Regions from separate parts of the Homo sapiens genome. Here region 2 is linked to region 1. The links are contacts of gene promoters, found by promoter capture Hi-C in blood cells and fetal thymus (Javierre and others, 2016). All regions are on one chromosome and are shown on one strand. The core of a region is centred on a gene start or on the middle of the fragment in contact, and the rest is flanking DNA. Distances in the headings are between cores, read along the strand shown.

Region 1 (5,421 bases), core at 1,573-4,072:
TGGCAGTGTCTACCAAAGCTGAACACAGGGCCATCCTATGCCCTGGCGATTCCATGCCCAGGTATATGCCCAAGAGAATGGCATTCATATGTTCCCCAGAAGACACACACAAGAATGTTCACAGCAGCACCATTTATCAGAGTCAAAAATGGAGTCTGGACATGGTGGCTCACACCTGTAATCCCAGCACTTTGGCTGGTGGAGGCGGGAGGATTGCTCGAGGTCAGAAGTTTGAGACCAGCCTGGGCAAGATAGCGAGACCTCATCTCTACAAAGGATTTTAAAAAATTAGCTGGGTGTGGTGGCATGTGCTTGTAGCCCCAGCTACTCAGGAGGTTGAGGTGGGAGGATCACTTGAGCCTGGGAGGTCGAGGCTGCAGTGAGCTATGATTGTGCCACTGTACTCCGACCTGGGTGATAAAGTGACATCCTACCTCTAGAAAAAACAAACTGAAAAAGCTTGGTCCCTCCATTTCAAATACTGAGATTTCATAGATGAAACTACTTCAGAAGTCTATTGAACCCTCCTCTATCAAGGCAATCACATTTTCATTCAGCTTCTGGGGGGGAAATGCCTACTACAAATGCCATCCGTGATTGAATGGAAGCAAATCATTTTGGGGACAATTCTGATTTTAGTGGCAAGGAGGTATCTGAGCTAAGAGCTGCCGGGAGGACTCTCACCCATGAGAAAACCAGCCCTCCAGGTCATTCCTATACTTCACTGTCAAATCTCCCTTTGCCTGTTCCGGCAGCTTTATTCATAATAGACAAAGATTGGAAACATCCCAAACCCCCTTCAGCAGGAGACCGATATACACATTGTGTGTGGTATGTGCCTATCACGCAATAGGACTCAGTGCTTCGAACAGGGCGGGAGGTGGGAGGACAAGCGAGGATGAGCGTGGAGTCCTCACATGGCAGAAAGGCAGAGGATCAAGCCAGCCCACTCCTGCAAGCCCTTTCTACGGCATCCCAAATACATTCATGACTCAAATACCCCCACAAAGGCCCCACCTCCCAACACTGTTGCAATAAAGATTACATTTCCAATGCTTGAATTTAGGGGGACACTAACTACCACATTTCTTGCTAACATACACATCTCTTTAGGGAAGGTCTTTGGACATCACTTTTTTTTTTAAGACAGGATCTTGTTCTGTTACCCAGTCTGGGGTGCAGTGGTGCGATCACAGCTCACTGCAGCCTCAAACTCCTGGGCTCAGTTGATCCTCCCATCTCAGCCTCCCAAGCACCTGGGACTACAGGTGTGCATCACCACGCCCAGCTATTGTTTGTATTTTTTTTTTTTTGTAGAGACAGGGTTTTGTCATGTTGCCCAGGCTGGTTGGACATCATATTTTGAGCACATTTCTGGCTGTTTTTAAGATTACATTCCTAGGAATGTTGGTGAATTGATGGGGGACAAAAACATTTGTTTCCCCTTGAGAGGCAATGGTACAGGGGAGGGGTTAAGAGCATAGACCCTAGGATCACATTGCCTAGGGTTGAATACTAGCTCTGCCACTTACTGGCTACAAGACCCTGGACAAGTCACTTCCTCTCTGTCTCTGTAAATGAGCATAATAGCAGCACCTGCCTCAGGGGGTTGTTGAATAGGTTCAATGAGCTAATATATAAGAAACACATGGTATATGCTATAAAGTGTTGTCTTCTTTTCCTTCTCCTCCTCCGCTCCCTGGGATTATTACCATAATGATACAATTATCATTTGTTCTTTCTGTAAAATGGAGTTTGATGTTGGAGCTGCTTCCTAGGCAGTCAGGCAGGGCAGTCACTGAGAATGAGGACGGCGTTTCTGACTCAGCTGTGGGCGGGCAGCTGCAGTGACACAGCTGAGTCTTGGCAAACACTTTTCATGTACGAAGCCTGACCCTGGAGTCTTGAGGCTGAACTTTTCACCAACAAACAGGAATGCATTCATGAATGTTACCTCTGGGTGCTGTCCTCTGGAAGCCATCTGCATAGCCTAACTCTGCCACCCTGGCTTGGACAATTATGGTGATTTCTCTGATGCCCCTGATACTACCACCTCAATCTGAATTTAGCAGCTCCCTTCACATATGGTTAGATTGCCTTTAAAGAGATTTTTTTTTTTTTTAGAGATGGGGTCTCACTATGTTGCCCAGGCTGGTCTTGAACTTGTGGGTGGGCTCAAGCAATCCTCCCACCTCAGCCTCCCAAAGTGCTGGGACCACAGGTGTGAGTCACTGCACCCGGCCTAGATGTCCTTTTTCAAACGTAAGCAATCATGCTCAGGTTTAGGATTATTCGTGCCTGGGTCCCCCTCCCATACTGAATTGCTATGGACAGCCAGCTAGTCTTCATCCTGCACCCCCCAGCCCCTGTGCAGCGTTAATGAGCCAGAAACGCTGATTCTGCTGCTGAGTTCCGTGGAACCCCCTGGGGCATTTTCCTGACTACCCCCAGTGTGGCCAATCCGTGTCCACTGAGGATGAATGTGACTCCAGGAAAATACATGAAGTAACTCTGTGCCAAGCTTGGTGAATGAATTGAGCCATGCCAATTCTGTGCTATAAATAAATTTACAAGACTGGTTTTCTTGCGTGGCTCATAAGCCAGGTCTAGCTGCCACTCCCCCAGAAGTCTTCCAAAAAGTATTTTGAGCAGGACCTTTAGACTGGGGTGTTGGAGTCCCAAGGCCAAGGCCGACCGCGCTGCTCTGGGCCCAGCGGGCGTTCCCACACGGGGCTGTAATGCCACGATTGGCCGCAGGAGGGGGGCCGTATTCCAGACCCCATTGCAGAAGCCTCCGCAACTGCTCCAAGAACTTTATTTTATACGGACTGGCGGCGAGAGCAGCTGCAGTTCGCATCTCAGGCAGTACCTAGAGGAGCTGCCGGTGCCTCCTCAGAACATCTCCTGATCGCTACCCAGGACCAGGCACCAAGGACAGGGAGTCCCAGGCGCACACCCCCCATTCTGGGTCCCCCAGGCCCAGACCCCCACTCTGCCACAGGTTGCATCTTGACCTGGTCCTCCTGCAGAAGTGGCCCCTGTGGTCCTGCTCTGAGACTCGTCCCTGGGCGCCCCTGCAGCCCCTTTCTATGACTCCATCTGGATTTGGCTGGCTGTGGGGACGCGGTCCGAGGGGCGGCCTGGCTCTCAGCGTGGTGGCAGCCAGCTCTCTGGCCACCATGGCAAATGCTGAGATCTGAGGGGACAAGGCTCTACAGCCTCAGCCAGGGGCACTCAGGTGAGTCTTGGTACTAATTTTGTCCTATCTCCTGGGCATGCTGTCTCAAAGACAGCTGGAGGAGACTGGAGTGAACTGGATGGAGAGGAGTACAGAGTTTGGGAAACTTCAGACCTAGAGCCTGGAGGTGCCTTCTCCAGGTGGGAAGGTCCCCGCCTGCTGGGCCCGCAGATATCTGCCGGGCCCTCATCCAACTGCCTGGGCTGGAGAGAATGTGAGCCTGCATTTGGGGTGCCAGAGGGAAGCTATTGCCTTGGTGGCTACTCCACCTGACTCATGTCACAGCTCAAGAGCCTACTCAGGGTGCAGATGGCTCAGGTGACAGCTCCTCTCCATGGCTTCGTGTGTGTGCATGTGTGTGTGTGCATGTGTGTGTGTGCATGTGTGTGTGTGTGCATGTGTGTGTGTGTGCATGTCTGTGCGTGTGCATGTGCCAGTGGTGGGATATATGTGGGGAGAGGTTATTTCTAAAATATCTGTCTCTGTCCAGCTTTGGGTTATGATTTAGCTTAACTAAGTACAGTTAGAGGAGGAAAACATTTAAAACCTCCTTAGTGATTCTCTCTTTGGAGAAGGGCCACACTCATGTGATTTTTTTCCTTGGTTTTGATGAGTTTAAAGTGAGGTAATCCAAAGAAAAGCCATAAACCCTGCAGAGTTAGATGCGGGTACCCAGAGAAACTGACTTGGTAGCAGCAAATGAGGCTCGTGCTACCCACTCAGAGGAGGAATTAATGGAGTCCTTCTGATCTCCAGAGAAGGATTGAAGAGCCAGGGTCCTGATATCAGCCCTAGAGTGCATTCGCGATTGCCTTTTACAAAGGGAACTTCAAACAGCTTTGTTTCTGAGACTGGCTAGGTAGGAGGGAGGCCTTGGGAACCTGGACACCCCCTTACCTGGCTGCCAGGCAGAGTCAGAAGATGCTGGGGGATGCTTTTTCTCATCAGACTGCCACCAGCTCCCCTGAGTGACCTTGTTCATAAAGTCATGCCACATGCATTATCTCACGGGAGGCTCACAGTGATCCTGGGTGACCAGCAGCTACCCACCTTCCCATCTTAGAGGTCATGTACCTGAGGCTGAATGAGGTCAGGTAATTGAGCCAAGTTCCCCCAAGAAACCAATACGCAGAGGAGCTAGGATGGGAGCCCTTGGCTTCTGTGTTCCCTGCATTCCTGCAGAGAGCCAGGCCTGCAGGGCGCAGATGGCCCCAGGGCACAGGGCTGCAGGGCACAGATGGCTGAGGGCTTTTCCAGCTCTAAAATGCAGAATCTAGAAGCAGATCCCTGGCTCTGAACCTGCCCTTCTAAGTGCCTTGGGTGAAATTGTCTGGAAGTAAATCATGATTGCCAAGAGGTTAGTGGAGAGGGTGACACCTCCCTGTTAGAGCAAGACCTCCCTCTTTGAGTTGCAAGTTGAGGTCCAGTCTCCTTGGGCTTCATCCACAGGTCACTGTGGCTTCCACATCTCGCCCATGTGCTTCAAGCTCTCAGAGCCCTGCCTCAGTCCCAGGATCCCCACCTGCTGGAGTACACTGGCTGGCAGTCTGAGGTGGGATTCTCTTCTCTGCCTGATCTGGGGCCCAGAAAGTGGTCACCAAAGGGGCTGACATGCAATTCCCAAACAAAGCAACCCTGCAGCTGAGCCAGTGCCCTGTGTAGGAAAACTGTGCCCGGGGCCTCTTCCCGCTCTGATATCCATTCCTTCCTTTGCCTCTTTGGTCTGGGATGGCTTATGTTTAAAATGGGAGGGACGGAATGCAAATGCCATCAGCCTACCCCCAACACAGTGCTCCTGGGAGGAGCACTTGCCATCAGTTTCATCTTCTAGAGCACAGACTTGGTCCAAAGACAGTAAGATCCATGATCTGAGGGTCCCAATGCCTGCTTCCTCCCCCAAGAAAGAAAAACAGCCCCCAAGAAACCTTGGGCAGACAGAACATGCGTAGGTTTCAATTCCAAGTAACAAACATGAGTAGAGTTGTCTGAGCTTTTCCAAGCCCTGTGCACTCACATCTGGCCCCGCTCGGCCCCAGTCCCTCTCCCCAGCAGATCCCCTGGGCTCCTGCTGGACCAGCTGAGGGGTGGGGAGGAGGAAGGAGACAGCTGCCCTTCACACACATTCTGGCTAACAAGCCGTGCATTCCAGCCCCGTCCCAGGAGCTGACCAGAAGAGGAGGAAG
Region 2 (5,595 bases), core at 2,639-5,138, 160 kb after region 1:
ATTATATAAAAAATAGCTACAATTAAATTTCTAGAAAATAACATGAGAAAATATTCTGTTGTCCATTTCTAGTGACAGATTTTTCATATTGACCTTGTATCCTGCAACCGTCCTAAACTCACTTATTCTATTAGCTTTTTAATAGATTGCTTGGGATGTTGTATATGGTTGGTCATTTGTGGATGAAGAAAGACAGTTTTACTTTGTTCCCCAGTCTGTATGGCTTTGTTTCTTTTACTTTTTTTAATTGCACTGGCTCCAGTATGTTTTTGAATAGAAATGTTAGTGGATATACTTGCCTTGTTCCCAATGTATTATGTTAGATGTAGGTTTTTCACAAATACCCTTTATTAGTTTGAGGAATTTTTCTTCTATTTCTAGTTATTATCGTGAGTGGGTATTGAACTTTGTAGAGAGCTTTTTCTGAATCTATTAAATTTTCTTTTAAAATCTCTCAATGTGGTAAATTATGTTAATTTTCAAGTGTTAAACTGAACTTCCTTGTGTAAAGCCAGTTTGGTCATGATATATTTTATATATTGCTTGATTTGCTGATATTGTCTATATTCATGAGGGATATTGGACTGCAGTTGTCTTTTTGGGATATCTGTCTAGTTTTAATATTAGGTTATTCTGTATTCATAAAGATGAGAAATGTTTCTCTTTTTTTAATAGAAATATCTTTTTCTTTAACTTTGTGTAGAATTGGTATTATTCCTCCTTAAATTGGTGGAATTCACTAGTAAAGCTATCTGGGCCTGGAGTTTTCTTAGTAGGAAGAGTTTAACTGTGATTTCACAGTTAATAGATATAGGGCTATTCAAGTGATCTCTTATTTTCTTTGTGAATTTTGTTAGTGTTTTTTAAGGAATTTGTCCATCACTTCTAAATTTTCAAATGTACTGGTGTGAAGTTATTCTTGATACACCCTTATTAACCTTCTAGTGTCCTTTTTCATATCTGGTACTAGTATTGTATATTTTCTTAATTTTTTTCCTTAATCAGTCTGACTTGAGGTTTATGTATGTTGGTGAATGTTGCATGCACTTGAAAAGGGCATTTTTTTCTACTCTTACTGGGTACGGTGTTCTACAAATGTCAATGTTCTACAAATGTCAATGATATTCTGTATACTTTTTATATTAATTATGAGAGAAGAGAGTTGAAGTTTCCAACTACAATGTGGATTTGTCTGCTTCCCCCCACCCCCAATTTCTATCAGTTGTTGCTTCATGTATTTTGAAGCTTTGTTATTAGGTACATACACATTTAGGATGGTTATTTCTTTTCTTTTTCTTGTTTTTTTGAGTTTCCTTTTGTCACCCGTAATGGAGTACAACAGTGTGATCTCGGCTCACTGCAACCTCTACCTCCTGGGCTCAAGTGATTCTGGTGCCTTGGCCTCTGGAGTAGCTGGGATTACAGGCGTGCACCACCATGGCCGGCTAATTTTTGTATTTTCAGTAGAGACAGGTTTTCGCCATGTTGGGCAGGCTGGTCTCAAACTCCTGGCCTCAAGTGATCCACTCTCCTTGGCCTCCCTTTCAAGTGCATGCAACATTCACCAAGACACATAAACCACAAGTCAGATCCCAAAGTGTTGGGATTACCATGCCTGGCCTAGGATGGTTATTTCTTTTGATGAATTTATACCTTAACTGTTACGAAATACCCTTCTTAATCCTCAGTGGTACTCTTTGTTCTGGAGTCCACTTTATGTGATAGTAATGGAGCCACTCCAGATTTATTTTGATTTGTGTTTTAATGATGTTTTTCAACCCTTTACTCTTGCCCTATTTGCGTCTTTATATTTAAATTGAGTTTATTATAAATGGCATGTCTCGTCTTGTTTTTATCCGTTCTGACAACTTTAATTTCCTTTAACTGGACTGTTTTGCCATTAGCTACATGTGGCTATTTAAATTTGGTTATTTAAATTTGGATTATTAAATGTGGTTATTTAAATTTGGATACAAATTAATTAGAATTAAATAAAATTACAAATTGAGTTCCTCAGTTGTATTAGTCACATTTTAAGTGCTCAGCGCTCAGACAGCACAGATATAGACATTTCCACATGGCAGCATGATGTATTGGACAGCTCTGTTTAGACCATTTATACTCAATGTAATTGTCTATTGTTGGATGTAAATCGGCTGTTTTGCTATTGTCCCATAGCTCATTGATGATTTTTTTCTAACCTTTTTCTCTCTTTGCTTCATTTTTGATAGTTTTTGTTGCTCTGTCTTAAGATTTAGTTATTCTTCTGCTCTAAGATGATGTTATTCTTATCCATTGTATTTTTCATTCCTAAGCTTCTATTTTGTCTTTTTTTTTCCGTTATGCTCAGATTTTCCTTTGTATCATTGAGCACATTTTTAAGATTTGTCTTAAGGTTCTTATCTGCTAATTTTGCCATTCCTGTCATTTTTTTTTTTTTTTTTTTTCTTGAGACAGAATCTTGCTCTGTCACCCAGGCCGGAGTGCAATGGTGCGATCTCAGCTCACTGCAACCTCCACCTCCTGGGTTCAAGCAATTATCCTGCCTCAGCCTCCCGAGTAGTCGGGATTACAGGCACGTGCTACCACGCCCAGCTAATTTTTGTATTTTTAGTAGAGACAGGGTTTCGCCATGTTGGCCAGGCTGGTCTTGAACTCCTGGCCTCAAGTGATCCACCTGCCTCAGCCTCCCAAAGTGCTGGGATTACAGGCGTGAGCCACCACTCTTGGCCTCCTGTCATCTTATGGTATGTTTCTATTGATTGATTGATTTTTTAATTTTTTGAGATGGAGTCTTGTGCCCTGTCGCCCAGGCTGGAGTGCAATGGCGCTATCTCAGCTCACTGTAACCTCCGCCTCCTGGGTTCACGCCATTCTCCTGCCTCAGCCTCCCGAGTAGCTGGGATTACAGGCACGTGCCACCACACCTGGCTAATTTTTTGCCTCTTTAGTAGAGACGGGGTTTCACCATGTTGGCCAGGCTGGTCTCGAACTCCTGACCTAGTGATCTGCCTGCCTCGGCCTCCCAAAGTGCTGGGATTACAGGCGTGAGCCACCGCGCTAGGCCTCTATTGATTTATTTTTCTCCTATATTGGTCATATTTTCTTGCTGCTTTCATGCCTGGTACTTTTTGATTGGGCAGTAGATATTTTGCATTGTCTAGTACTGGATTTTGTTATTCCTTTAAAGAGTGTTTGATTTAGTTATGGTCTGAGGTTAAGTTACCTGCACATTAGCCTGTTCCTTTTGAGACTGGCTTTTAAGCTTTGTTTTGAATGTTTATCTGGGGCTAAACTTTAGCTGTACTATCTAGTTGTGACCCTTTAGAGGACTTTACTATGTGTTACAGGGTTACCATCCTCTAGCTCATGGTGATATGAAGTGTTCCTAGACTTGTATGATCTCTGGTAATTGTTGAGCCAATTGCTTTCCTCTGGTGCTTTCCCAGCTTTGGGGCATCTACACATTGTTATGTGCGGATAAGTACTTGGCCAAACACTCAAAGAGAAACTGTTCAGATCTTTGGAGTGCTCTCTTTGGAGCTCTCTAGTTCTCTGCTCCACAAATTCTAGCCGCCTAGTCCTTCTTGACCTCTGATCTCTGTCTCTTCAATGTGACAGGACTTCTGGATTATGTGACCTCTGTCCTGCAGTCTGGAAACTGCCTTCAAGCAGTAAGTTAGGGCAGTGATAGGGCCCACCTCATTTGTTTCTCTTCTCTCAGGCATCACAACACTGCTCTGCCTGTTGTCAAGTGTCTGAAAACAATTATATTTTGTCTAGTTTTCTAGTTAATGGCGAGATGGTAACTCTAGGAGCAGTTAATTGTCCAGGAGTAGTTAATTATTTTTCATGAGCAGAAGCAGAACTCCATCTTTTCATCTTTTTTTTTTTTTTTTTTTTTTTTTGAGACTGTGTCTTGCTCTGTCACCCAGGCTGAACACAGCTCACTGCACCTGCACCCTTAACCTCCTGGGCTCAAGTGTTTCTCCCAAGTAGCTGAGACCACAGGTGTGTGCCATCATTCCTGGCTAATTAAAAAAATTTTTTCGTGTGTAGAGATGGAGTCTCTTTATGTTGCCCAAGCTGGTCTCTACTGGGCTCAAGTGACCCTCCTGCCCCGGACTCCAAAAGCGTTGAGATTATAGGCATGAGCCACCACATCCAACCCCTTTATCTTTTAACAATGTTTTAAAAATGTGAAAACAGTTCTTAGCTTGTAGGCCATACAAAAACAGGCCATTTCCCAATCTCTGCTTCAGAGTTACTGTAGGATAAAACTCCAAAAGTAGGCTTGGTCAAAAGATACCCATTTAAAATTAGGATATATGTTGTCAAATTGCTCTCCAAAAAGACTGTGCCAATTAATACTCTTGGCAGTAGTATATTGAGAATGTTAAGATGCTTTATTTTTATTTTTTATTAATTTTATTTTTTATTTCTCTGACATTTAGTATTATGTTCAACTCCAACTATAAATATCCCGGCCTCTCCGTTTATGCAGAAGCTTGGCTTTGGTACTGGGGTAAATGTGTACCTAATGAAAAGGTAAGTATAAGATTTCAGATTAACCTTTTTTCATGCAACTATAATTCTACTGTACTTGGAGACAAAGAAGTAGTCTGAAAATTCCAGTATTTAGATTCGGTTGTCTGCTCCTGATCCTGGCTGATGGCTGTATTCCGGTCCCTAGACCCTTTTGTAACTTTGCCTGTAGCTCTGCCTCTGCTTTTCTCCTAGCTTCCTCCTGATGGGTTATTAAAGGGGAAGTCATTTACTTTTTAATTTTTCCTTGGCTTCCATAAGAAGGGGAAGTGGCAGGGGAAAGGGTTCCTTTGTGGTAATTAAACCAGATTCTTCATGAGAAAACCTCAAAGAGGAAGCCAGTATTGGGTGATGTCAGTGACTGCTGTCTTTTCTGCAGCGTTGCCCTCCTAAGATATGCTCTTCTAAAAGAAGTAAAAGATTTTCATTTCTTATGGCATTGTTATTAAGAAGGGTAAATACATGATTTTAAAGTAGGAATATTGTGTTAAGAAAAATGAAATAATCGAACAAGTATGGTGCCAATATAGCTGTCAACAAAGTGTTTTTTTAAATTACTTTTTTATTATTCATATATTTTTTTGAAACAGAGTCTCACTCTGTTGACCAGGCTGGAGTGCAGTGGCACGACCTCCCAGGTTCAAGCGCTTCTCCTGCCTCAGCCTCCTGAATAGCTGGGATTACAGGCGTGTACCATCACACCCAGCTAATTTTTGTATTTTTAGTAGAGACAGGGTTTTGCCATGTTGGCCAGGCTGGTCTCGAACTCTGGCCTCAAGCGATCTGCCCGCCTTCGCCTCCCAAAATGCTGGGATTACAGGTGTAAGCCACCATGCCCAGCCCAAAATTACTTCTTTTAATCATTACTCTGTACCTAGTTTCATGTTTATTAAGTGGCAAACAACTACATCAATATATATTCCTTAATGCATTCTTGGAATCAGTCTAACTAGTCCAACCCTCCGTATCTTAGCTTCATCTAGGTTTACATTGTTTCCAGATAGAAATGCTTTCTTTAATAAGAGGCTAATTAAGAATAATTTAGTAATT

What was found. Contacts are between HindIII fragments. The CHiCAGO score rates a contact against its expected background, and 5 or more counts as called.
Region 2: a contact is called between a fragment that was not itself captured here and the fragment with the promoter of SCARA5 in region 1, in 1 of 17 cell types (monocytes). The highest score is 5.7, in monocytes.

What each region holds. Positions count from the first base shown.
Region 1 is chr8:27,990,074-27,995,494 of GRCh38, reverse strand. SCARA5 (scavenger receptor class A member 5) reads left to right here and starts at 2,822. Exons shown (of 9, transcript NM_173833.6): 1 at 2,822-3,238. The HindIII fragment of the contact is 6,163 bases long and covers 2,524-5,421 here.
Region 2 is chr8:27,827,058-27,832,652 of GRCh38, reverse strand. It overlaps PBK (PDZ binding kinase), which reads left to right. Exons shown (of 8, transcript NM_018492.4): 3 at 4,455-4,548. Among named protein-coding and RNA genes, the nearest start is that of PBK, 8.0 kb to the left of the region's middle. RefSeq lists a silencer at 4,515-4,715. The HindIII fragment of the contact is 1,242 bases long and covers 3,268-4,509 here.